Linked DNA regions of Homo sapiens: all the other regions are linked to region 3. Evidence: promoter capture Hi-C in 16 types of primary human blood cells and fetal thymus (Javierre and others, 2016). All regions are on one chromosome and are shown on one strand. The core of a region is centred on a gene start or on the middle of the fragment in contact, and the rest is flanking DNA. Distances in the headings are between cores, read along the strand shown.

Evidence for each region. The method cuts DNA at HindIII sites, captures the fragments that hold promoters and counts their contacts. A CHiCAGO score of 5 or more calls a contact.
Region 1: a contact is called between a fragment that was not itself captured here and the fragment with the promoter of SLC41A2 in region 3, in 1 of 17 cell types (total B cells). The highest score is 5.1, in total B cells.
Region 2: a fragment that was not itself captured here is called in contact with the fragment with the promoter of SLC41A2 in region 3 in 4 of 17 cell types (fetal thymus, activated CD4 T cells, total B cells and 1 more); the score reaches 6.9 in fetal thymus.
Region 4: a contact is called between a fragment that was not itself captured here and the fragment with the promoter of SLC41A2 in region 3, in 7 of 17 cell types (non-activated CD4 T cells, endothelial precursors, naive B cells and 4 more). The highest score is 8.1, in non-activated CD4 T cells.
Region 5: the fragment with the promoter of NFYB here is called in contact with the fragment with the promoter of SLC41A2 in region 3 in 5 of 17 cell types (activated CD4 T cells, naive CD8 T cells, fetal thymus and 2 more); the score reaches 5.6 in activated CD4 T cells.
Region 6: a fragment that was not itself captured here is called in contact with the fragment with the promoter of SLC41A2 in region 3 in 2 of 17 cell types (total B cells and naive B cells); the score reaches 7.6 in total B cells.
Region 7: a contact is called between the fragment with the promoter of HCFC2 here and the fragment with the promoter of SLC41A2 in region 3, in 8 of 17 cell types (total CD4 T cells, total CD8 T cells, naive CD8 T cells and 5 more). The highest score is 12.7, in total CD4 T cells.

What each region holds. Positions count from the first base shown.
Region 1 is chr12:104,276,341-104,279,883 of GRCh38, forward strand. The region is part of intron 3 of TXNRD1 (thioredoxin reductase 1); the gene reads left to right. The region is part of intron 1 of TXNRD1-AS1 (TXNRD1 antisense RNA 1); the gene reads right to left. Among named protein-coding and RNA genes, the nearest start is that of TXNRD1-AS1, 2.7 kb to the right of the region's middle. The HindIII fragment of the contact is 2,232 bases long and covers 298-2,529 here.
Region 2 is chr12:104,209,252-104,212,311 of GRCh38, forward strand. No RefSeq gene overlaps it. Among named protein-coding and RNA genes, the nearest start is that of TXNRD1, 5.0 kb to the right of the region's middle. RefSeq lists an enhancer at 477-646. The HindIII fragment of the contact is 6,114 bases long and covers 1-3,060 here.
Region 3 is chr12:104,956,316-104,959,591 of GRCh38, forward strand. SLC41A2 (solute carrier family 41 member 2) reads right to left here and starts at 1,975. Exons shown (of 11, transcript NM_001352171.3): 1 at 1,773-1,975. RefSeq lists silencers at 1,364-1,693, 1,884-2,153. The HindIII fragment of the contact is 5,296 bases long and covers 1-3,069 here.
Region 4 is chr12:104,165,421-104,168,557 of GRCh38, forward strand. No RefSeq gene overlaps it. Among named protein-coding and RNA genes, the nearest start is that of LINC02385, 3.0 kb to the right of the region's middle. The HindIII fragment of the contact is 2,041 bases long and covers 473-2,513 here.
Region 5 is chr12:104,136,562-104,140,047 of GRCh38, forward strand. It overlaps NFYB (nuclear transcription factor Y subunit beta), which reads right to left and starts at 1,649. Exons shown (of 8, transcript NM_006166.4): 1 at 1,580-1,649. RefSeq lists enhancers at 208-801, 802-1,393, 2,217-2,386 and silencers at 1,013-1,142, 1,203-1,282, 1,383-1,482, 1,533-1,832. The HindIII fragment of the contact is 8,431 bases long and covers 1-3,486 here.
Region 6 is chr12:104,242,959-104,246,238 of GRCh38, forward strand. All of the region lies in intron 1 of TXNRD1 (thioredoxin reductase 1), which reads left to right. Among named protein-coding and RNA genes, the nearest start is that of TXNRD1, 29 kb to the left of the region's middle. RefSeq lists an enhancer at 922-1,091. The HindIII fragment of the contact is 1,711 bases long and covers 456-2,166 here.
Region 7 is chr12:104,063,005-104,066,481 of GRCh38, forward strand. HCFC2 (host cell factor C2) reads left to right here and starts at 1,527. Exons shown (of 15, transcript NM_013320.3): 1 at 1,527-1,719; 2 at 3,163-3,311. The coding sequence starts at 1,557. It also overlaps a transcript of GLT8D2 not described here. RefSeq lists silencers at 1,054-1,213, 1,223-1,392, 1,374-1,543, 1,764-1,903. The HindIII fragment of the contact is 6,452 bases long and covers 967-3,477 here.

The DNA of each region.
Region 1 (3,543 bases), core at 164-2,663, 680 kb before region 3:
GACAGAGAAGTGAAAGTAACTTGTACCTGACGACTTGAGCCTTTGGGCAGTGTGCTGGAGCTGGCTCGTACCAGCTCAAGAGACCCCTTGTTAAACATCAAGGAATTTTGCAAGTAGGTTGGTAGCTTGAAATTAGCCAAAGTGGGAGTATTCAACTCCAGAAATTAGCAAATACTACAAATCAGGGCCTCCCCACCACCACTCAGAACTGGTTTACCAGAACACCTTACACTCCCTTTCTTCTCTTTTCCACTTCACTAACAGTCAAAAGCCTGCTGAAGTGCCAGTTGAATTTGAAGCTTGAGTGAGTGCCCATTATGGGAAAGGCACTGTGCCAGATGCCAGGGTAAGAAAGACCAACCCCTCAAGTAAATAATACTGTGGTGGAGAGTGAAGAGCATGCAGGCGTAAATCCTGGACTAGCTGTCGGCTCTTGGGACAGTCACTTAAACTTGGGTTACTCATCTGTAAATGGAGATAATAATATATATCCCAAAGGGTTATTGAGATGACTGAGAACATGTAAAGTTCCTGGCACAGAGGTGTTCATTAAGTGATGGTTCTAAGAGTGGGGACATGTAAACAGATGTCTTTCATATAGCTTGATATAAGAAATAAAGATGGGAGCCGGGCACAGTGGCTCATGCCTATAATCCCAGCACTTTGGGAGGCTGAGGTGAGAGGACTGCTTGAGCCCAGGAGTTTGATACCAGCCTGGGCAACAAAGCGAGACCCTGTCTCTACAAAACATTTTTTTAAATGAAGCATAGGCCGGGTGCGGTGGCTCATGACTGTAATCCCAGCACTTGGGGAGGCCGAGGCGGGTGGATCACAAGATCGGGAGATCAAGACCATCCTGGCTAATGCGGTGAAACCCCGTCTCTACTAAAAATACAAAAAAAAAAAAAAATTAGCTGGGTGTGGTGGCGGGCGCCTATAGTACCAGCTACTAGGGAGGCTGAGGCAGGAGAATGACATGAACCCGGGAGGCGGAGCTTGCAGTGAGCTGAGATCGCGCCACTGCACTCCAGCCTGGGCAACAAAGTAAGACTCTGTCTCAAAAAAAAAAAAAAAATTAGTCAGGCACGGTAGTGTGTGCCTCTGGCCAGCTACTTGGGAAGCTGAGGCATGAGGATCATTTAAACCCAGGAGTTTGAGGCTGTGGTGAGCTATGATTGTGCCACTGCACTCCAGCCTGGATGACAGAGCAAGATTCTGTCTCCAAAAAACAAACAAATAAACAAAAGAAATAAAGACAGAATGACTACAGGTCATAGTCCCCTCAGTAGATTCCAGAGTTTTCAGGGTGGATGATTCATGGATGATTTTCCTTGTTTGTTATCAGAAGGTTACCGGGGTTTTTTTTTTGTCCCTACAAATCAAGTTTACCGGATTTACTTGTTGTTTTTACCGGTTTTTAGCCTGTTCCTCACTCTATATTATTTAATTGTAAGACAAACAATGGATTTGGAGGTAGGCACAGTTGGATTTATATACCAGCTCCAACACTTACCTGGTTTGTGACCTTTGGCAAGATTCTTTTTTTTTTTTTTTGAGACGAAGTCTCACTCTGTCACCCAGGCTGGAGTGCAGTGGCGTGATCTTGGTTCACTGCAACCTCCGCCTCCCGGGTTCACTCCATTCTCCTGCCTCACCCTCCCGAGTAGCTGAGACTACAGGCGCCTACAACCACGCCCGGCTAATTTTTTTGTATTTTTAGTAGAGAGGGGGTTTCATCGTGTTAGCTGGGATGGTCTTGATCTCCTGACCTTCTGATCCACCCGCCTCAGCCTCCCAAAGTGCTGGGATTACAGGTGTGAGCCACCATGCCTGGCCTCTGATCAAATTCTTTTTTTTTTTTTTTTTTTTTTTTTTTTTGAGACGGAGTCTTGCTCTGTCGCCCAGGCTGGAGTGCAGTGGCGTGATCTCGGCTCACTGCAAGCTCCACCTCCCCGGTCCACGCCTTTTTCCTGCCTCAGCCTCCCGAGTAGCTGGGACTACAGGCGCCCACCCCCAAGCCTGGCTAATTTTTTGCGTTTTTAGTAGAGACGGGTTTCACCATTTTAGCCAGGACGGTCTCGATCTCCTGACCTCGTGATCCGCCCGCCTTGGCCTCCCAAAGTGCTGGGATTACAGGCTTGAGCCATTGCGCCCAGCCTAATTTTTTTTTTTTTTTTTTGAGATGGAGTCTCACTCTGTCACCCAGGCTGGAGTGCAGTGGTGCCGTCTTGGCTCACTGCAACCTCCACCTCCCGGGTTCAAGCAGTTCTCCTGCCTCAGCCTCCTGAGTAGCTGGGACTATAGGTGCACGCCACCACACCTGGCTACTTTTTTGTATTTTTAGTAGAGACAGGGTTTCACCACGTTGGCCAGGCTGGTCTTGATCTCCTGACCTCGTGATCCGCCCGCCTCGGCCTCCCAAAGTGTTGGGATTACAGGCGTGAGCCACCGCACCCAGCCTCTGATCAAATTCTTAAAGGCCAAATTACCTTTATAAAACTGAGGACCCCCTAACATTTACCTTGTAAAAGCTTTTTTTTCTCCTTTTCTCTGTGAAAAAGATGGAATATACAAATTAACTAAGTAATATCTGCATTTTTACAGATTTAATCTCTCAACAATTATTTATTGATCAATTACTATGTGTGCATACTATATTAAGTGCTGGGAACATGATGGTGAGCATAACTAATCCTGGTCCCTGCTCACATGTGGCTATGTACATCTATATTAATTAAACTTAAATAACATTAGAACTTCACATCCACACCTGTACTAGCCATCTTTTATGTACTTAATAGTCACATGTGGTGAGTGGCTATTGGGTTGGACAGTGTAGATTTAGAATATTTTCATCACCACAGAAAGTCCTCTTGGACTGTGCTATTCTAGAGTGAGGGAGGTGGACATTGATCAAATACTCATAAAAGTATGATTGCAATTGTAGTAAGTACTAGGCAGAAAGAATAGATGGTAACATGAGAACATTTCATAGGGGGATTTGACTTCTCTGTTGGTTTTCCCAAGGAAAACCTGTTCAAACTAGATTTGCTCAATGCTTGGAAGTTAGCAAAGCCCTGTGGTGGGAGGGAGGACAGTAATTACAGGGACTGAAAGCAAGCTAATGACTGAATCATGGGGATTGAGGAGAAGTTTGGGTGAGATGAAGGGGTGGAAGGACCACAAAGGGCCTTGTAGAAAGAAGATGAAGAAGCAGAGAGGCTTAGTAACTTGGCTTTGCAGTTAGTAATAGAACCTGGATTTGACTTCAAAGTCTACACTGCATAATAAGGGTATATTCAACAGACTTTGGTTCTGCAATTATCTCTTTTTGCTCCTTCTTTGGAAATTGCCAAAGTTCCCTCTACTGGATTATTCCTTTAGCATAAAAACATGCTGTAATAATTTCCTTCTTAGACAAACCAAAAAAACCAAAAAGTCTGGCCAGGCACGGTGGCTCACCCCTGTAATCCCAGCACTTTGGGAGGCCGAGGAGGGTGGATCACGAAGTCAGGAGTTGAAGACCAGCCTGGCCAACATGGT
Region 2 (3,060 bases), core at 497-2,996, 750 kb before region 3:
CCTTATGTTGTTATATTATTATTACCATTTTGCATTATATAGAAGGTGATTCCTTTCTCTCTTTCTTCCTTCCTTCCTTTCTTTCTTTCTTTCTTTCTCTTTCTTTCTCTCTCTCTCTCTCTCTCTCTCTCTCTCTCTCTCTCTCTCTCTCTTCCTTCCTTCCTTCCTTCCTTGATATAGTTTTGCTCTTGTTGCCTAGGCTGGAATGCAATGGCACGATGCCGGCTTACCACAAGCTCCGCCTCCTGGATTCAAGTGATTCTCCTCCCTCAGCCTCCGGAGTAGCTGGGATTACAGGCATGCACCACCATGCCCGGCTAAATTTTTTTTGTATTTTTAGTAGAGACGGGGTTTCACCATGTTGGATAGGCTGGTCTCGAACTCCTGACCTCAAGTGATCCACCTGCCTTGGGCTTCCAAAGTGCTGGGATTACAGTCTTGAGCCACCACACCTGGCCTATTAGATTTTTTTTTTTTAATCCCAGATACATAATAATTTCAGTTGCGACTATTTCAGGATGTATCTCTAAAAGAAAAGTACTTTTTAAAAACCTTACTACACAAATAGAATCACAAATAAAACATTAACAATCTTAAGTATCCAGTCCATATTCAAAATGTTTTCATATATAAATAATTTTTTTTTTTTTAAAGACAGAGTCTTGCTCTTGTCACCCAGGCTGGAGTGCAATGGTGTGATTTCGGCTCACTGCAACCTCCGACTTCTGGGTTCAAGCGATTCTTCTGCCTCAGCCTCCCAAGTAGCTGGGATTACAGGCGCGCACCACCACGCCTAGCTAATTTTTGTATTTTTAGTAGAGATGGGGTTTCAACATGTTGGCCAGGCTGCTCTCGAACTCCTGACCTCAGGGGATCCACCTGCCTTGCCTCCCAAAGTGCTGGGATTGTAGGCGTGAGCCACCACGCCCGGCCACAATTTTTTTAAAAATTAATTTGTTGATTTTTTTTGACATCAGAACCCAAAGTGCACTGCATTTGGTTGATGTGTCTCCTGTCTCTCTCTCTCTCTCCCTCTTTATATTGTAGTAAAATATACATGAGAAATTGACAATTTTAAGCATTTTAAAGTATACAGCTTAGTGGCATTAAGCACATTTACACTGTGTGGAACCATCACACCATCCGTCTCCAGAACTACTTCTATCTTACCAAATTAAAACTCTGTACCCATTAAATTAAACTCCTAATTTCCCCCTCCCCCAAATCCCTGGCAACCACTATTCTACCTTCTGTCTTTGCGAATTTGACAACTCTGGGTACTTCATATATCCTAAGTCTCTTTTCATCAATAAGTTCCCACTTCCTCTTTTTCTTCCCTTGCAATTACTGTATTTGTGGATGAAATTGGCAGATTCTGGATTTTGCCATTTACATCCCCATAGTGTTGTTTAACTTGTTCCTTTATCTTCTTTTTCCTATAAGCTGGATGTAGGGAATTTATTTATTTATTTATTTATTTATTTATTTATTTATTTAAGACGGAGTCTCGCTCTGCCGCCCAGGCTGGAGTGCAGTAGCGGGATCTCGGCTCACTGCAAGCTCCGCCCCCCGGGTTCACGCCATTCTCCTGCCTCAGCCTCCCGAGTAGCTGGGACTACAGGCGCCTGCCACCACGCCTGGCTAATTTTTTTGTATTTTTTTAGTAGAGAGGGGATTTCACCATGTTAGCCAGGATGGTCTCGATCTGACTTCGTGATCCACCTGCCTCGGCCTCCCAAAGAGCTGGGATTACAGGCGTGAGCCACCGCTCCCGGCCAATTTATTCATTTTTAAATATCATTTGAAGGTAGAGTGGACAGGACTTGCCGGCCAATTGAAGGTGGAGTATGAGAGAGAAGAATCAAGGATGACGCCAAGGTTTTTGGCCTGAGCAAGTGGAAGAATGGAGTTGCCATTTTCTGAGATGGGGAAGACCGTGGGAATAGGTTTGGGAGGGGACAATCTGCTTGGACATTTTAGGCTTGAGATGTTTATTAGACACTCAAGTGGAGATGCCAGGTGCCAGGTGAATATGTGAGCCTGGAGTTAATGAAAGTGGCTGCAGCAGGAGACATAAGTTTGGGAGTTGTCAGCAGATAGATGACATTTAAAGCTCTGAGACTAAAGGAGATCACCAGAGAAGCAAATGCAGATTATAAGAGAGAGAGGAGGGGAGAAGTTCGAGGACTGAGCTTTAGTACTTCAATATTAAGTGCCAGGAAAATTGAGGAGGAACCAGCAAAGGAGACTGAGTAGGGGCATCCAGCACAATAGGAGAAAATCTAGGTTAGTGTGGTACCCTGGAAGCCAATCATTCTAAGGAGGAGATTATGAAACATGGGTCATATGTCATGGATAGGCCAAGTAAGATGAGGACTGGGAATTAATTATTATTGGGTAGAAAAGAGATGCCCTCCCCCAGGCATGGTGGCTCACGCCTGTAATCCCAGCACTTTGGGAGGCCGAGGTGGGTGGATCATCTGAGGTCAGGAGTTTGAGACCAGCCTGGCCAACATGATGAAACCCCGTCTCTACCAAAAATATAAAAAATTAGCTGGGTGTGGTGGCATGCACCTGTAATCCTAGCTACTCAGGAGGCTGAGGCAGGAGAATTGCTTGAACCCGGGAGATGGAGGTTGCAGTGAGCTGAAAGTGTGCCTCTGCACTCCAGCCTGGGCGACAGAGTGAGACTCTGTCTCAAAAAAAGAAAAGAGATGCCCTCCCTTTTGATGCTCTTTAAACAAATCATGTATAATTAAATTAAAACTCAATGGCCAGGTGCAGTGGCTCACGCCACTTTGGGAGGCCAAGGCGGGTGGATCACCTAAGGTCAGGAGTTCAAGACCAGCCTGGCCAACATGGTGAAACCCTATCTCTACTAAAAATACAAAAAAGTAGCCAGGTGTGGTGGCGTGCACCTATAGTCCCAGCTACTCAGGAGGCTAGGCAGGAGAACTGCTTGAACCCGGGAGGTGGAGGTTGCAGTGAGCCAAGACGGCACCACTGCACTCCAGCCTGGGTGACAGAGTGAGACTCCATCTCAAAAAAAAAAAAAAAATT
Region 3 (3,276 bases), core at 725-3,224:
CAGTGCCAGTATCCAAACCTATTAACAGAAATTTTTTTCCATAAATGAACAATAAAACTCAATAAAAAGCTAAGCAACCCAGACTGGCCGTGGTGGCTTATGCCTGTAATCCCAGCACTTTGGGAAGCCGAGGTGGGCAGATCACTTGAATTCAGGAGTTGGAGACCAACCTGGCCAACATGGTGAAACCACGTCTCTACTAAAAATACAAAAATTAGCCGGGCATAGTGGTGTGTGCCTGTAGTCCCAGCTACTTGGGAGGCTGAGGCAGGAGAATCGCTTGAACCCCGGAGGTGGAGGTTGCAGTGAGCCAAGATTGTGCCACTGCACTCCAGCCTGGGTGACAGACTGAGAGTCAGTCTCCAAATAAATAAATAAATAAATAAATAAAAATAAAAAGCCAAGCAACCCAATTAAAATATGGGTAAAAGATATGAACATTTTCTCCAAAGAAAATATATGAATGGCCAATAAGCACATGAAAAGATGCTCAGCATCCCCAATCATTAGAGAAATGCAAATCAAAACCACAAAGAGATACCATTCCACACTCACTACGATGGCTATCATAAAAAATAACCAGTAAAAAAGTAACAAGCCTTGGGGAAGATGTGAAGAAATCGGAACCCTCATACACTGCTTAGTGGGAAAGTAAAATGGTACAGCTGCTTTGCTTGGCAGTTCCTCAAAAAGTGAAACACGGAGCAATTGCCCTCCTAGGTATATACCCAAGAGCACTGAAAACACATGTCCACAAAAACGTGTAAACAAATGTGCATAGCAGCATTACACACAATGGCCAAAAACTGGAAACAACCCAAATGTACATCAACTGATGAATAAACAAATGTGGTACACTGATACAACAATATTAATATGCTATAAAAAGTAAAGTACTGATACATACTACATGAGTGAAACTTGAAAACATTACAGTATGTCTTTCGACGCCAGACACAAAAAGCCACATATTGTACGCTTCCATTTATATGAGATTTCCACAACAGGCAAACCCATATAAACAGAAAGTAGATTAGTGGTGGCTAGTGGGGTGGGGTCAAGGGGAAATGAGGAGTGATTACTAAGAGAGACAGGGTTTCTTTTGGGGATGATGATCTGGATAGTGGTCATATTTGGAAAACTCTGTGAATATATTAAAAGCCACACTTTAGAAGAATGAGTTTTATGGCATGTGATGTATATCTCAATTTAAAAATTGTCACTACAAAAAAAAGATGACATATATACGTAATATACACATCAATGTATATCGGTAACACATAGATATGTGTCATCTCTCTCTGTAAATGAGCATTTGGGCTTTTAAATTTGAGATATGCTCCGTGTATATAAAGAGAAGAATGAAAGAAAAGGGTGACGGGGCACTCGCGGAGCCCTGAACAGGCATCTGGGGTGTGCCCGAGCCAGCCTCGCAGCATCTCCATCCCAGCTCACCTTCAGCCATCACTCATACACCACCCGCCGCCTGTCCCTGCCTTGGGCGCCCGGGACCGCTTGTCCGCGGTGGCCGCGGAACAGCTTCCCTCAGCCCGAGGTGGGGCAGGCGCGGGGGCCTGGGCTCGGGCGCTGCCCGGCGGCCCGGAGAGGCGTCCGCAGGGGGCACGGCTGCTCGGGCGGGGCCGCTCCCTCTGCTCCCCGCGCCCCCGCCGCCGGGTCCCGAGCCCAGGCCTCTCGGCCCCACCTCCCTCCCGCACCTGATGCGCCCGAACGCGGCGCCGCGGCCGAAGCCGAGACTTCCCCTCCATGGTCACCTGTTCCGGAGCGCGGCGGCGGCAGCGGCCGGTGTGAGAAGGGTCCCCGTCTCCTCAGACCAGACCGAGACACCAGGGGCGGGGGATGGAAGGGGCATTCACCTGGTGCCCGGCACCGGTGGTGGCGGGGAGGACAGCGGCTCCCAGCCCACAGCTCCTTCCTGCTCCCGCGCCTCCTCGCGCGGCTGCGGCCCCAAGCTGACAGCCCGGCCGTCGGCGCCCGCGGCCCCCTGACTCCCCGCCGCCCCGCCCCCGCGCGGCAGCCCCGCGCAAGCGCAGCCGCGCCGCCGCCGGGGAAGCCCGGGCCTTGGTGATGTGGCCCGCGGGGCGGCGACCCGGAGCGACAGCACCGCCCCGCCCGGACCCCGGCCGCGCCCTGGCAGACAGCTGTCGGGAACGGGGGCGCTGGATGACGGCAAGGGGGCAGTTTTCTGGGGAGCCTGCCCAGGAGAGAAGGGCTGTGGCCTCCTTCGGCATCCCTCTTCCCCACCAGCCCACGCACGCCCACTTCACCGCCTGCTCCAAGGTCCGAACCCCCGAATCCATGACTCATGATTTCTCTTCTCAGACCAGCGGCCTCTTTTTGGCTGAGGTCATGTTTCTTGCAGACTGGAGTTAAAACCGAACCACGTGTCTTTCGGCCCAGCAGCGCATAGTGTGGGCGGTGCAGGAGCCGAGACGGGCAGGAACCACCGCAGGAGGGGGTGAGGTTTAGGGCAGCCCCATAGCACCCTCCCCGTGCCAGGCAGGTGTAGGCGCCAAGCGCATGGGGCGCTGAAGAGTTGGCTGGGGTGCCAGGCTTTTCAAGTTTCCCCACACTTGCTTTTAAACCTAGATCAAACTGATCCAAAGTCTGCATGTAAATCCGAGAGCTCATTTATTTTATTTACAAAACTATTGAGCATCTACTGTGTATGATTCAGGGAATGAGACACACCCCAGGGATACTCCAGTGAACAAAAGAAAGGTGTTGGTCCGAAGACAGTTATTTTAAAAATTACACAGCTAATGCCATAATGCCAGGATTGGTGGCTCATGCGTGTAACCTCAACACTTCGGGAGGACCAGGCGAGAGGATCGCTTGAGGCCAGGAATTTGAGACCAGCCTGGGCAAACACAGCGAGACCTGGAGTGGCTAGGAGACTGAGGTGGGAGGATCGCCTGAGCCCAGGAGTTCAAGGCTGCAGCGGGCTATGATCGCATCACTGCACTCCAGTCTGGGCCACAAAATGAGACCTTGTCTCTAAAACAACAACTCAAAATTACACAGCTAATGATACTCTTTTCCTCAAATCAAAGCTTCTACCAATTCCAAGCCACACCAGTGATTTAGTAGCAGCTTTTCTGGTGCTGAAGGACACCAGCATACATTTATCCATGTTCTTTTTTTTTTTCCTTATGCTTTGCGATCAGACTTTGAGCTTTAACCTTAACCTTCAGGGTGAAGGGTGCTTCGGTATCACTCTTGGCCATCTGCAGTCATGCTTTTTATAATGACTCATCC
Region 4 (3,137 bases), core at 243-2,742, 790 kb before region 3:
TCTCTTCCATCCATCTGTTCATTATATCTTTTATAAGAAATGGATAAACATAAGTAAAGTGTTTCCCTGAGTTCTATGAGCTGTCCTAGCAATTTAGTTGAACCCAAGGAGGAGGTCATGGTAACTCCAGTTTATAGTGTTGCCAAACTGAGCTGGGGCCTGCTTGCCTGGCACAGTAAGGCCAAACATCCATGCTGAGATTTTGCAGTGAGAGAAAGGAGGGCATTTATTTGCAGTGTGCCATGCAAGGAGAATCTGGCAGTTCATGCTCAAGATCTGACCTCTGCAAGCCAAGGGTTTTTAAAGGTACAGGTAAATTTCAGGAAAGCAGAAGTTACAGGCAAAATTGTAAACCAATACTTGGAGGTTAAACATCAGTTTGGCCTAAAAAGGCAGGATATCCTCAACCAAGGGCTTACAGGTCATGGGTCAATTAAAAGATTTTCTGATTTGCAATTGGTTAGGGAAGGAAAGCTTCATCTAAAGACTTGGGGTCATCAGAAAACAATGTTAGGTCTGGCCCATGGGCGTGACTTCCTCCTGGCCCCTGAGGAAGAAATTTAGAACAAAGAATGGCAGCCAGAGTTCAGTCCTCAGTGTTCTCCCCTTATCTGAGGTCCGTGTGCCAGTGGATCCATTTGGCAGGGGTCTGGATTTCTAAAGAACAACTCAGGGCTATTTGTTAACATGTTATCTTTAGTTTCTATAGAGAACCAAACATCTCATGACTCTAACTTCCTTGGCTATTGTTTTAAGCTACTATTACCTTTTTGCTTATTAAGTTGCTCATTTACTTCTCAGGGCTAGCTAGGTTCCCAGGATTTCCCTTAAATGAACTCAAGATTTGCCTTTATTTCCATGCTTGAGGGTGCCTAGCAGGGACCTCTGTTCCTTCTCAATAGCTGATTGGCTGGAAGCACTAATCACAACCTTGGGCTTGCAACTGGCATCTAAAGCAGTCTTATGGGACTGGGTCCTCAACCCATGGGATCTGATGCTATCTCTAGATAGTGTCAGAATCGAATGGAATTATAGGATGCAAAGCTGGTGCCTGACGAGAATTCCTTGGTGTATGGAGAAAAACCCACACACATCTGGTGTCAGAAGTGAAGTATTAAGTGGTGTGAGTAGAGAGAAAAACCACTGAGTAGACAAAGTGGTTTAGGCTGCTGGGAGAGGACTGCTTGTCTGTCGGCCAGGACATTTCTCAGCTGGACTAGTGAGATGATTACTTTATTCTCTTAAACCTCCAAGGCTCAGATGATGCCGTGCATGACTCCAGGGAGCACCATTCACTTAGACTATAGTGAATAGCACCCCCTGCAGCTGTGCAACATGGTGGCTCAGGCCAGTTTATACACCTGTCATATTCTCTCTCTCCACTTTATCCCCACCACCACCCCGTACGACCACCACCATGCTCAGAAAACCCTTGCCTAGCACGCTCCTGGACTATTCATGTCAAAACAACTGTGGGAAATGATGCAAATAGCAACATTAATATCCACAAGCTAAAATACAGCATGGCTTCATTTTCTTCTTGTTTCCTTTCTCCGTGATATCAAGTTGTGTTTCTGCCTGTGAGAAAGACACTCACCCATCCAGTCCCAAAGAATGGACTTACAGGCACGAAGAACAGCAAAAGTGAGACTTTTTTTTTTTTTTTTTTTTGAGATGGAGTTTCACTCTTGTCACCCAGGCTGGAGTGAGTGCAGTGGCACAATCTTGGCTCACTGCAACCTCTGCCTCCCGGTTCAAGCAATTCTCCTGCCTCACCCACCCGAGTAGCTGTGATTACAGGCACCTGTCACCACGCCCAGCTAATTTTTGTATTTTTAGTAGAGATGGGGTTTCACCATGTTGGCCAGGCTGGTCTCGAGCTCCTGACCTCAGGTGATCCACCTGCCTCAGCCTCCCAAAGTGCTGGGATTACAGGCGTGAGCCACCATGCCCGGCCTCCAGTGGTATTTCTGGATCCAGCTTCTGTGTGGTGACCAACTGGGTGTGACAATAGCTCAGTTAGTGAGCAATAGAAAATAATGGAAAGACTCACACACAGTCAGCCCACAAATTCCTGCAACACCAGAGGCAGACAGGTTATAGGATACTGGGTTCCCTTATGTTCCTAAGTCATCTTATTGTGTGTCTTATTTTCCACTTGAGGCTGTTCTTTGTGGTAATTTTAATATGACTTATCTTGCCTTAAACATTTAGAGTTGGAAGGAAGGGACAGAATGTATTTTGCCCTGGGCCCTCACCTGCTGGGGAGGACTACTAGCCACAAACCCTCCCTAAAGATAACTGTGAGCACAGGGTAAGCATGCATTCCAAGCGTGACTTAATGAGAACTCTGTAATGTACCAAGAAATAAAAAGATAAGCATAGACTGACACAAAGATCAAAAGGGCAGATGAACTGTCAACTTCCAAATCAGTTTTTCCTCCAAAACATATGTTTAAAAATCTTTACTGGTAACAAGCCTGAAGGATTTTGATTTTGTGATCTCATATGTAAGCTTATCACCAACTCTGAAGGCTTAGGTCTGCTGGCATGGGTTCCATCCTTCCTTAGTGAATAAAGTACCACTTGTTGAATTGCCTCTATTGGTTCCTGGAGTGCCTCTGAGTTCTTGGAGGTCTCTGGAATTCAAGAGTCTGTTCAGTCCAATACAGCTTAGGGCAGGGGACCCCAACCACTGGGCCATGGACCAGTACTGGTTCACAGCCTGTTAGGAACCGAGAAGCACAGCAGGAGCCGAGCAGCACAGCAGGAGGTGTACAGCAGGCAAGTGAGCAAAGCTCACCTGTATTTACAACTGCTCCCTAATGCACACATTACCACCTGAGCTCTGCCTCCTGTCGGATCAGCAGTGGCATTAGATTCTCATAGGAATATGAACTTTATTGTGAACTGTGCATGTGAGGGATCTGGGCTGCATCTAAGTTGCATGCTCCTTAGGAGAATCTAATGACTGATGAAACCATCCCCCCATCCTGCTCCCATCTGTGGAAGAATTATCTTCCACAGAACCGATCACTGGTGCAAAAAGGCTGGGAACCTCTAGTTTAGGGAATTAAAAAATGGCCCAAGACAAGTAAGTTGTAGAGCCATGTGAGAAAACATTTTAAATGGTCCAT
Region 5 (3,486 bases), core at 399-2,898, 820 kb before region 3:
GAAATGTTATTTTTTAAAGAGTGTCTTTGAAAAAATAAGCCCTCAGAACACTTAAAACATGGGAGCTATATTTATGTATTTTGCTTGGAATGGGAGAGGGGGGTGTGGGCAGGGAGTCATACCACACCACACTCACTCACCCAAATAGTTGATTCAGTATATATTTAGACTCAGTACATTAAAGAAAAACACTGTCACCTCATATGGTGTATATTTTCTTAAGGGCAGGTTGATATATGTAAAAGCTCAAGGGAATGCATACATCTGTTTAATGTTTTAAGAAATGCAAATTTGTATCCAAGAAAAGCAGTAGTCCCTTCCTCCACCCTCCATTCTTTGGCATCAACAACCAGAGTTTTGCATCAATATACAGTAATCCTTAAATTAAGATACAAGAGCAATGCAGGGAAGGAATAATTTGCCTTTTAAGGAATTTTGGTTAAACTTTCAATACTTTACAAATAAACCCCCCACTGATTAGTGCCACTGATATTGATCCGTTTGCTTTCATCACTTTATGTTGCTGATTAGTTTCCATACTAAGAGAGATGAAACCACCCCAGTGATTTGTAGCACGAACCACGCAACTATGGGGTCCATGCGGGTTAGTGGGATGCCATTTTTTTAAAGGTCGCAGGCTACCTAACCTTGTTTAAATTATCCTGTTAGAGTGCTTTGGGCGAGATTACGATTTGTGGGTGCTCTGTAATTCTTTGTTCTCTAAGACTACCGTTCTTTAAGGCCCTGCATATCCTCCCGCCTCCCACCACTAATGATTAAAACCTTAGTCCAATCCGAAGGGCTTCCTTCCCACCTTCGGGGCAAGTACAGGGACCGCAAACCGCCAGATGGCTGCATTCTTTACGCGCAAACCAGGCTGCGGGGAAGCTAAAGCCATGCCTTCCTCCCCACGCAGGTGCCTGGGTGGCCCCGGCCCCACGGCCTGGTCCCGGCGACCTGTCAGCCCTGCGAGTGCCAGGAGGCCGCCCCCAGAGCGCATCCCCTGACTCGCCCGGCCGCCCCGGCCCCGCGCCCAACGCCTGCCTCCCACCCGCCGCGCGGCCCCCGGGATGTGCGGGCAGACAAAGCGCCGGGCCCCGCCACAGCCCCGCGGGCGGGAGGAGGGCGCCCCCGGGGACTCGCGCCGCCGCCGGGGCTACGGGGCCAGGGCCCGGGCCGCGTCTCCCGCCCCTCGGCCGGCTCCCCGCACAAAATGGAGCCGGCCCGGGACGCCGTCGAGAGCGGGGCCCCGACGCAGCCCCGCGGCCCCTCCTCGGCCCCGGGCCCGGAGCTCAACGGCGGCGAGGGTGAGGTGGCCTGGCCCGCGTCCCGCCGCTCCTCAGCCCGGCGCACAAAGAGCCGCGCCGCGGCCCCGCGCCCGCTCCCCGGCCCGGCCCGCTGCGGGAGCGGCCTCGCAGGCGCGGGGCCCGGCCTCGGCCCGCGCGGGAGGGCGGGAGGCTAGTGCCCCCGGCCGCGGCGGCGTTGGCGGCGGGGACGGCGCCGGGAGGAGACGGACATTTCATTCGAGCTAAAGTGGAGTCGGTTTAGGAGCGATCATTGGCCGAAGCGAGACACAAACCTCCAATGCAGCCCTGGTTGGCTCCCGTCTCCAATCGGCTGTTTGGTTGGACAGAAAATGGCTGCGAAGGAACCAGTCCCAGCGCGGAGCTCCGCTTCCAGGACTCGGCCTCCCCTCCCTCCGCCGCGGGCCGCTTCCCTCGGCGCGACACCCTCCCTCCGCGCCGCCCGCGCGCCCGCCCGCCGCGGCCCCGCCCCGCCCCGCCCCGCCCCCGGCCCCGCCCCGCCCCCGGCCCAGTCCCGCGTTCCTGTGAGGCCTCCGCGCCGCTCCGGATGCCGCTCCTCTAGGCGCGAGGTCTTCCAGGGCCCTGCCCGGGCGCGCCGTTCGGGTCTAGGCGGGCCTCCTTCCCGGTGCTGACCCGGGCCTGTGCGAAGCGGGATCTCTCGGGCGTCCCTCTCTTTGTCACCCCTTCCCCCGCCACGTGGAGGTGCCTCAGCCGCCTGAGCTCAGCCTGCCTGCGCCTGGATTTTTAAGAAGGGGAAACCAAGGACAGAAGCCGCCCCCTAGGACGACGCGCCCGAGCCACCGGGAGGGTCTGAACGGCGGGGGCCTCCTGGAGCGCCTTCAGCGCCTCGTGTTTTCTTTCCTTGGGTCCCTGTTAGCGTCGCCGCATGCACAGCGCTCCCTGTCATTTGGTCCCTGAGCTTGGGTGTTTTTCACATTTCATCTAAAGATGCAGACCCCTGCTAAGTCTAGCCAGCCTTCACCCTGAATCTTGAACTTAAGATGCTGCATTTTCCACCCACCCCCACCCCTCTAGTAGCTGCAGATTGACAAGCGGCTTTTCCCAACCAGATGACATTTTGGCTGCAAGAATCCGTGGCCCGTTCTTGCCTCTGTGCAGCCAAGCTCCTTCGCTGTCTTTCTCAAACTGCAGTCCTGAGTTCAGCTTCGCTTAGCAGTGACCATCCCAGAGGTGGGTAATCCAACACTGGATCCACTCACTGCAACCGGAGCTGGGGATGGCATGCCCTCTGCTTCCACTAACCGAGTGGCCTGCACCACATTAAACTCTCCAGCTTTGATTATGTAAAAATACAGAGATCTTTTATTTATAGAGTTCCTACTGTTTCTCAGAGTATTTAAACATTTCTGCGGCAAGTATGGAAGAAAAGACAAATGAAAGCCCCAAATTGTGACAAGAGGAGTAAGTAGCAATGCCACTGTCATCAGACAACCTGACTTGAATTCCAACTCCCCTTCTTACAGGCTTGTGATCTTGGCCAAATGTCTGCTTCTCAGGGTTGTTTGGGATAATGTATACATAGAAAGCCCTTTAAAAAAAAAAAGTTATCCCAGCACTTTGGGAGGCCGAAGCAGGCCGATCACCTGAGGTCAGGAGTTCGAGACCAGCCTGACCAACATGGCGAAACCCCGTCTCTACTAAAAATACAAAAATTAGCCGGGCGTGGTGGTGGGCGCCTGTAATCCCAACTACTCAGGAGGCTGAGGCAGGAGAATCGCTTGAACCCGGGAGGCAGAGGTTGCAGTGAGCCGAGATCACACCATTGCACTCCAGCCTAGGCGACAGAGCAAGACTCCATCTCAAAAAAAAAAAAAAAAAAAGTTATCCTAAGATCTTTATATAGCATGAATTTCTTCAATCTCCATCAAACATTTAAAAGGTGTTATTTGCTTAGAAAAAAAAAAGGAAAAATTGGCCTGAGTTTAATTTCTCCCTTTCTCTATGCTTACCCATAAAGTGGAGATTAAGGAGTGAAATGATGTGTTCAAAGGTTCAAAGGCAGGAAATATAAAGTAATAGAATTGGGAGAAGGGGCTGGGCATGGTGGCTCACGCCTGTAATCCCAGCACTTTGGGAAGCCAAGGCAGGCCGATCACCTGAGGTCAGGAATTCGAGACCAGCCTGACCAACATGGAGAAACCCCGTCTGTACTAAAAAATAC
Region 6 (3,280 bases), core at 61-2,560, 710 kb before region 3:
GGAGTGAGGCAAGTGGGAATTCTTGGCTAGGACCCCAACATAACTAAGGTTTAATCTTAACCTTAAATAAGACTCCTTTGAAGGAGGTACAAGCACAAGAGCTATAAACAGGATATTGTAGTCCTTTTTATAGCACTTAAGTTCTTCTTATGACATTTATTTGTAAAAACTAAAAATCCTTTTAAGGCTAAAAAACCTACCTAGGGTTTTATTTCAATTTGGTAAATAAATAATACTAATAACTACAATGTACTTATTATTAATTTCAACACTAGAAATTCATTATCATGTCCTTTTAGGGAGTCTTTAGTCTTCCTTCCGTGTGTTTCCATAAAGACTTCTGTTTTATTTTTCCAGCTTGTCTCATATCCTACAGACTTTCAGAAACACATATAACTACTTTCTTGTCTTCACTTGATTTATAGACACTGTAATGGGTATAGCTTACCCATTTAAGCTTCCCCACTCTTGGGTCTCTTATGGAGTAACTTCTTTACTTGATGGGGTCTTGTCAGACCCAAGAGTAATATTTGTGTGTCTTGTGGGTTGAATATAATATTGTAATAATTCTTACTTTGTTAAAAGGAATCTTCTGAGAGTGGTGGTGTGTTTGCCATACTCCTTGAGCTTGAACTGAATGAGTTTTGTTAAGAGGTCTGGGGTTCTGTGGAAATCCTTGATTTCTTCTGACTTGCAGTCCAGATGCTTTTAACCACAGGCAACGAGTAAAAATATGTGCATGACAAACCTGTAAACCAGAAAGTGAAGACAGCAGGCAGAGTGGCGTGCTATAAAATTTTTATCATCACACTTGAAGTGATCGTGTTGCTCATTAATGGCGAAAACTCAAGTTCTAACACATGGCAGTTTTAGTCTGTGTTTAGCCTTGCCATGTGCTTTCATCTGCCAGGCTCCTCTTTGCTTTCCCCTTTGTTTCCCTGCTTTGAAGTTCATTCATTGTCCTGGTTTACTGTGAAATGCCACTTGGGGATAACTCAAAATAGGACAGTGGCTTTATTACCTGTGCTTTTCATATTTCATGCTACCTTTCTGTTTTCCAGTTTCCCCCAGTTAAGTTGCATTCCTTATGTACCGTGATGTTCCTCTGTTGTCAAACTAGAGCTTCTTCCCACAGCTAAGTGGCTGATCAAGGTTTCTCCAAAGAGATAAGTATCAGTTATATAGCTCTCTAAGCAATGTGTAGACTGAGAGCCACTCAAAACCTGGCTCTCTGCAGGCTTTCAGGTGGCAGTAGTCATGGGTGAGAGTCAGTGGTTTTGGCAGGTACAAACACATATGAATTGTATGAAGATGTTTCTTGAGGAGGAGTGTCCTGGAGTGGAAGTGTTTTCCTTTAGTAATCCCTTTACTAATCCCACAGTTCAAATATCTTGCTTTATATCCCTAAGAGTACAAAGATTTCAATGAATTTCTCTGTTTAGTGAAGTCAGAGACAGGAACAAATGCAATAGGCTGGTATGCAACTTTAATTTTTTTTTTAAGTTTGGGAAATACAGGAAAGAAAAGTCATGGATAATTCTGTCACGCCAATATAACTAATATGACCATTTTGCACATTCTTTTTCAGGATTCCTATATGTCGAGTTTCACAGAATTGTAAAACTATGGTACATAGGACTTGGTATTCTAGGTTTTTAAAAAACTAACAATTGTGTCAAACTATTTCTACATTATTTTGAATCTTGAATAGTATGCAGCCACTAAATAAGGTTAGAACAAGAGAGCTACTGTAATTTAGCCATTCCTCTAATGTCAGACATTTGTTGTTTCTAATTTTTTGCAATAGCTAATGATGTTACAATGAAATCATTGGTAATAATTGGATAAAAAGAAGGGATTGAAGACAGGGAAAAGAAAGGGGTGTAGGCTGTAGAGCAGGGAGAGAACCTCTTTGCAGCTTAGGCTTGGGAGAGAGAAAAGCTGTGGCAAGGTATAACTTTGTCCCTGTATCTAGAAAGGTTATGGACATGTTCAGGAGGTCCGGAATGGTGAGTATTGATAGGCCTGTGGCCTGTTTTGTTCCACTGGGTTTTACAGGAAGTTAACATGATTGATCCTAAAGCTATAGCACTTTTATTGAAAGGGAATTTGGGACTATCCCCATTTAACTAGGTGATAATAGCTATGTTAATAAAAACTACTGAAAGCTTTTCCTAAGAGAAGGCTAGGAGGTAGGGGTCTTTCAATGTTTTCATTATTTTAGATTTTTTTTTTTAAAGCTAGTCGTCACAAATAAGAATACTGAGTTAAGGCTCGGCGCGGTGGCTCACGCCTGTAATCCCAGCACTTTGGGAGGCTGCGGCAGGCGGGTCACCTGAGGTTGGGAGTTCCAGACCAGCCTGACCAACATAGTGAAACCCCGTCTCTACTAAAAATACAAAATTAGCTGGGCATGGTGGCACAGGCACATGTCGGTAATCCCAGCTACTCAGGAGGCTGAGGCAGGAGAATCACTTGAACCTGGGAGGCAGAGGTTGCGGTGAGCCGAGATCACACCATTGCACTCCAGCCTGGGCAACAAGAGCGAAACTCCATCTCAAAAAAAAAAAAAAAAAAAAAAAAAGAATACTGAGTTAAAAGGTATGGCCATCTCAGGAGGTTGCAGTGAGCCGAGATCCGAGATGGAGCCACTGCACTGCAGCCTGGGTGTTGGAGCAAGACCCTGTCTCAAAAAAAAAAAAAAAAAAAAAAGTATGGCCATTTGAGTAGTTTTTGACCCACACTGTCAAATTGTTTTTCAAAAGAATAGTATTAGCTTGTGTTACACAGCCCTGTGGACTCACTTCAGTGTACATTTATCAGCACTGGGAGTTTTCATTTTTTTTGTATGTAAGAAATGACATTTCGGGGCCGGGCGCGGTGGCTCACGCCTGTAATCCCAGCACTTTGGGAGGCCGAGGCGGGCGTATCACGAGGTCAGGAGTTCGAGACCAGCCTGGCTAACATGGTGAAACCCCGTCTCTACTAAACAAAATACAAAAAAATTAGCCAGGCGTGGTGGCGGGCTCCTGTAGTCCCAGCTACTCGGGAGGTCAAGGCAGGAGAATGGCGTGAACTCGGGAGGCGGAGCTTGCAGTGAGCTGAGATCGCGCCGCTGCACTCCAGCCTGGAGCCTGGGCGATACAGCGAGACTCTGTCTCAAAAAAAAAAAAAAAAAACTTTTCCCAGCTGGGCACAGTGGCTCACACCTGTAATCCCAGCGCTTTGGGAGGCCGAGGCGGGTGGATCATGAGGTCAGGAGATCGAGACCATCTTGGCT
Region 7 (3,477 bases), core at 277-2,776, 890 kb before region 3:
TGTGTACTCCCTATGAGAATCTTATGCCTGATGATCTGAGGTGGAACAGTTTCATGCCAAAACCATAGCCCCCATCCCCTTGCCAAGTCCATACCACCCACTCCCCTGCCAAGTCCGTGGAAAAATTGTCTTCCATGAAACCGGTCCCTAGTGCCAAAAAGGTTGGGGACAGCTGAAACAGGCAGTCACAAGGTTACTATAGTGAAGCATATTAACATATCCATCATCTCATATAGTTACCACCAACCCTTTTTGTGTCTCTGTGGCAAGAGTGGCTAAAATCTACTCATTTGGCATGAATCCCATATGCAGTGCAGTTTTATTCCTAATGGACTTGTGTGATTATGTGTAGGACCAAATCACAGGGCAGCTAGGCCTTATTAAGTGTTGCATTGGCTGGGTGCGGTGGCTCATGCCTGTAGTTCCAGCACTTTGGGAGGCCAAGGCAGGAGGATCACTGGAGCCCAGGAGCTCGAGCTTGCAGTGAGCTCTGATCGCGCCACTGCATTCCGGCAACAGAGCCAGACCCTATCTAAAATAAATAAATAAAAATAAAGAGTTGCGTATGACTGCTACCAGAGGCAGTATGGTATAATGGTTGGATATGACTGCTATCAGAGGCAGTATGGTATATGATATAAGGGCTTGGGGGTTCTGGAATCAGAAGCCCTGTGTTGGAATCCTGGCCCCAGTCTTTTTTTTCAACACCTCTCCTTTGTGTCCATCAGAAAATTACCTTACTGCACTGTGCCTCATTTCCCCGTCCATGAAAGGGAGATAACAGGAGCCACCACACTGGATTGCTGGATGGATTACATGAGTTAATACACATGAGGCACTTAGGGCATGCCAGGCTGTGGACAGCCCTCACTTGTTAGCTAGCAATGAAACAGAAACCTAGAAAACCATCTCTCCTCTGCTTAAGCCAAACAAACCAAAAATACCTCTTGTGGCTCACGGTTCCCAAGCTTCCTGGCATGGCTCCGCACAAAGCTGCCTTCGGTTCGCCCGGCAGGCTTTGTAGCGACCTTCCCTGCCCGGGTCCCAGTCACGGTCGGGAGCAGCCGCCGTGGCCCGGGCTCGCGAGGCAGGCTCCCGCCCGCACCCTCCCGTGCGAGGTCCCCGCCCTGCGCTCCCAGCTCTTCGAACCTCTACCCGAGCTTCTCTCACGTTGCTTGTGAGACTGCCTCGCCCACACATCCTAGATGCTCAATTAAAGTGGACGTAAAGGAAGATGCTGTGGCTTCTTCCCAAAATACCGAACGGGAGGCTCTGGGTGGGGATGGGAGACGTGGTCAGTGGGAAGCGTCCTTCCACCCTAAGGTGCGTTGCTCCGGGTGGCCGCTGGCCAAGTCGCCTGGGGTGGGGGCGGGGCTCCCCTGTCAGGACCCCCCTTCCCCAGCGTCTCTCCACTGCCCGCGGGCCTCCAGCCTGGCCGCCGGCGCCCGCGGCCACGTGACCCCAGCACAGCTGGAGGCGGGTCCCCGCCCTCCCCAGGGAGCAGCCGGTTGAGGCGGGAGCGGTGCATTGTGGGCAGAGGGGCGGGGGTTGGGAAGATGGCGGCTCCCAGCCTCCTCAACTGGAGGCGAGTTTCTTCCTTCACGGGGCCGGTCCCCCGCGCCCGGCACGGACACCGAGCGGTGGCCATCCGGGAGCTGATGATCATCTTTGGAGGGGGAAATGAGGGCATCGCGGATGAGCTGCACGTCTACAACACGGGTAGGCGCGGCGGCGGCTCGTCGGCCCCGCCTGCTGGAGCTGCGGAGGGGGAGGGGAGGCGAGGCGGCGGCCGCGGCCCTGACAGCTGTCACCGCCCGGTCACTGCTTCCTTGGGCGGGCGGCGGGGAGCGCGGCTCAGCCGGGCAGCCCGGGTCCGGCAGCTCTGTCCCGGACCGCAGCTCAGGATCTCCGGGGCCCTTGGGGCGCAACGGACCCCGAGCGGGGCGCACCGGCCTTCAGGCGGGGGATCCCGGACGCCCCCACCCCAGCCCGACAGGCGGACGCAGGCGACAGAAGACCATGTCCAACCGCCTGGGCCACTCCCCGAAATCTCGCCTCTGTCAAAAAACAAAACCCACTCCAAACCAAAGTTCCTTAGGGCCTTTCCCGTCTTTGCCTGCCTTCCTTCCTTAGGAGGAAGACCATCTAGGGGGTGAGGAGGGAAAACGAGAGGCCTTCTGGCACTCTCGCCTCAAATACAACCCGGTGTTTGGCAGGTAACGGTCAAGAGCCCCTCCGTGAGCCGCGCTCTAAAGCGGCGGGGACGTGGTGAGGCGGCCTTGTGTCTGCATACTCGGTGTGGACGCCCTTCTGGACTGGCCCTCGGAAAGAGGACTGTCATAACTTGAGCACCACTGCAGATCACAAGTGCCCCTGGGCAGGGAGCCCCTATCTTTGAGGACCTCTGTGGAATAGAAAGGAAACTGGATTTAATTTTTTTTTCCCCTTGTAAATGCTCAGGCTGTCACAAGAAATCTGTTTGGTGTAAAGACAGTGATGGAATTTTGGGTCTACTTCATGACCGATAACTTTTCTTTGATCAAACAACTTAATCACAGGAATAATTTGAAGGTTAACAAAATAGTGGAGTCTGAGAAGTTTTATTTTTTTCACCCTCTCCTCCTCCCAGCGCCCCAGCATATGAAGGTAAAAAGTTACTGACACTTTGGTCTTAGTGTAAAATCCCTGGCTTTGGAACAAATTAGACCTGATTTGAATCTTGCTCTGCCGGTTGCCCAGGATCAGCGCTAAAGTTACCAAACCTTTTTAAGCCTCACAATTTTCAGTTGTAAAATAGAGATTTTTATACTCACCCAGCAGGGCGTTTTGTAAGAATTAAATGATACAGATCAGGGTTTTTCAACAGCAGCACTCTCGACCTTTTGGGCCAGGTAATTCTTTGTTGAGGTTGGGGGAAGCTGCCCTGTATTGCCCTGTACATTGTAAGATGTTTGGCAGCATCCCTGCCTCTACCTACTAGATGCCAGTAACAGCCCCCTCCAGTTGTGACAACTAAAAATGTCACCAGACATTACCAAATGTCTTCTGGGGGGCAGAATCATCCCCAGTTGAGACCCACTGATATTGATGATATATATTTGCTGATAGTATATGATAACCGTTGTTTGTTATAATCGGTTTTCATTTTATTTTGGCAACTAGCTACGAATCAGTGGTTTCTGCCAGCTGTTAGAGGAGATATCCCTCCAGGCTGTGCTGCCCATGGATTTGTCTGTGATGGTACCAGAATATTAGTATTTGGGGGAATGGTTGAATATGGAAGATACAGCAATGAGTTATATGAGTTACAAGTAAGTGTATTTAATATTGTTTCATTCTGAGGCTTTAATAATGATATTGTTCATAATTTTTCAAAAGATTGCAACATTACTAACATTGTTTAACACATTTTAATATTATTCAAGTAATGTATTATTCAAGTAAACTATTATTCAAGTAATATTATTCAAGTAATGT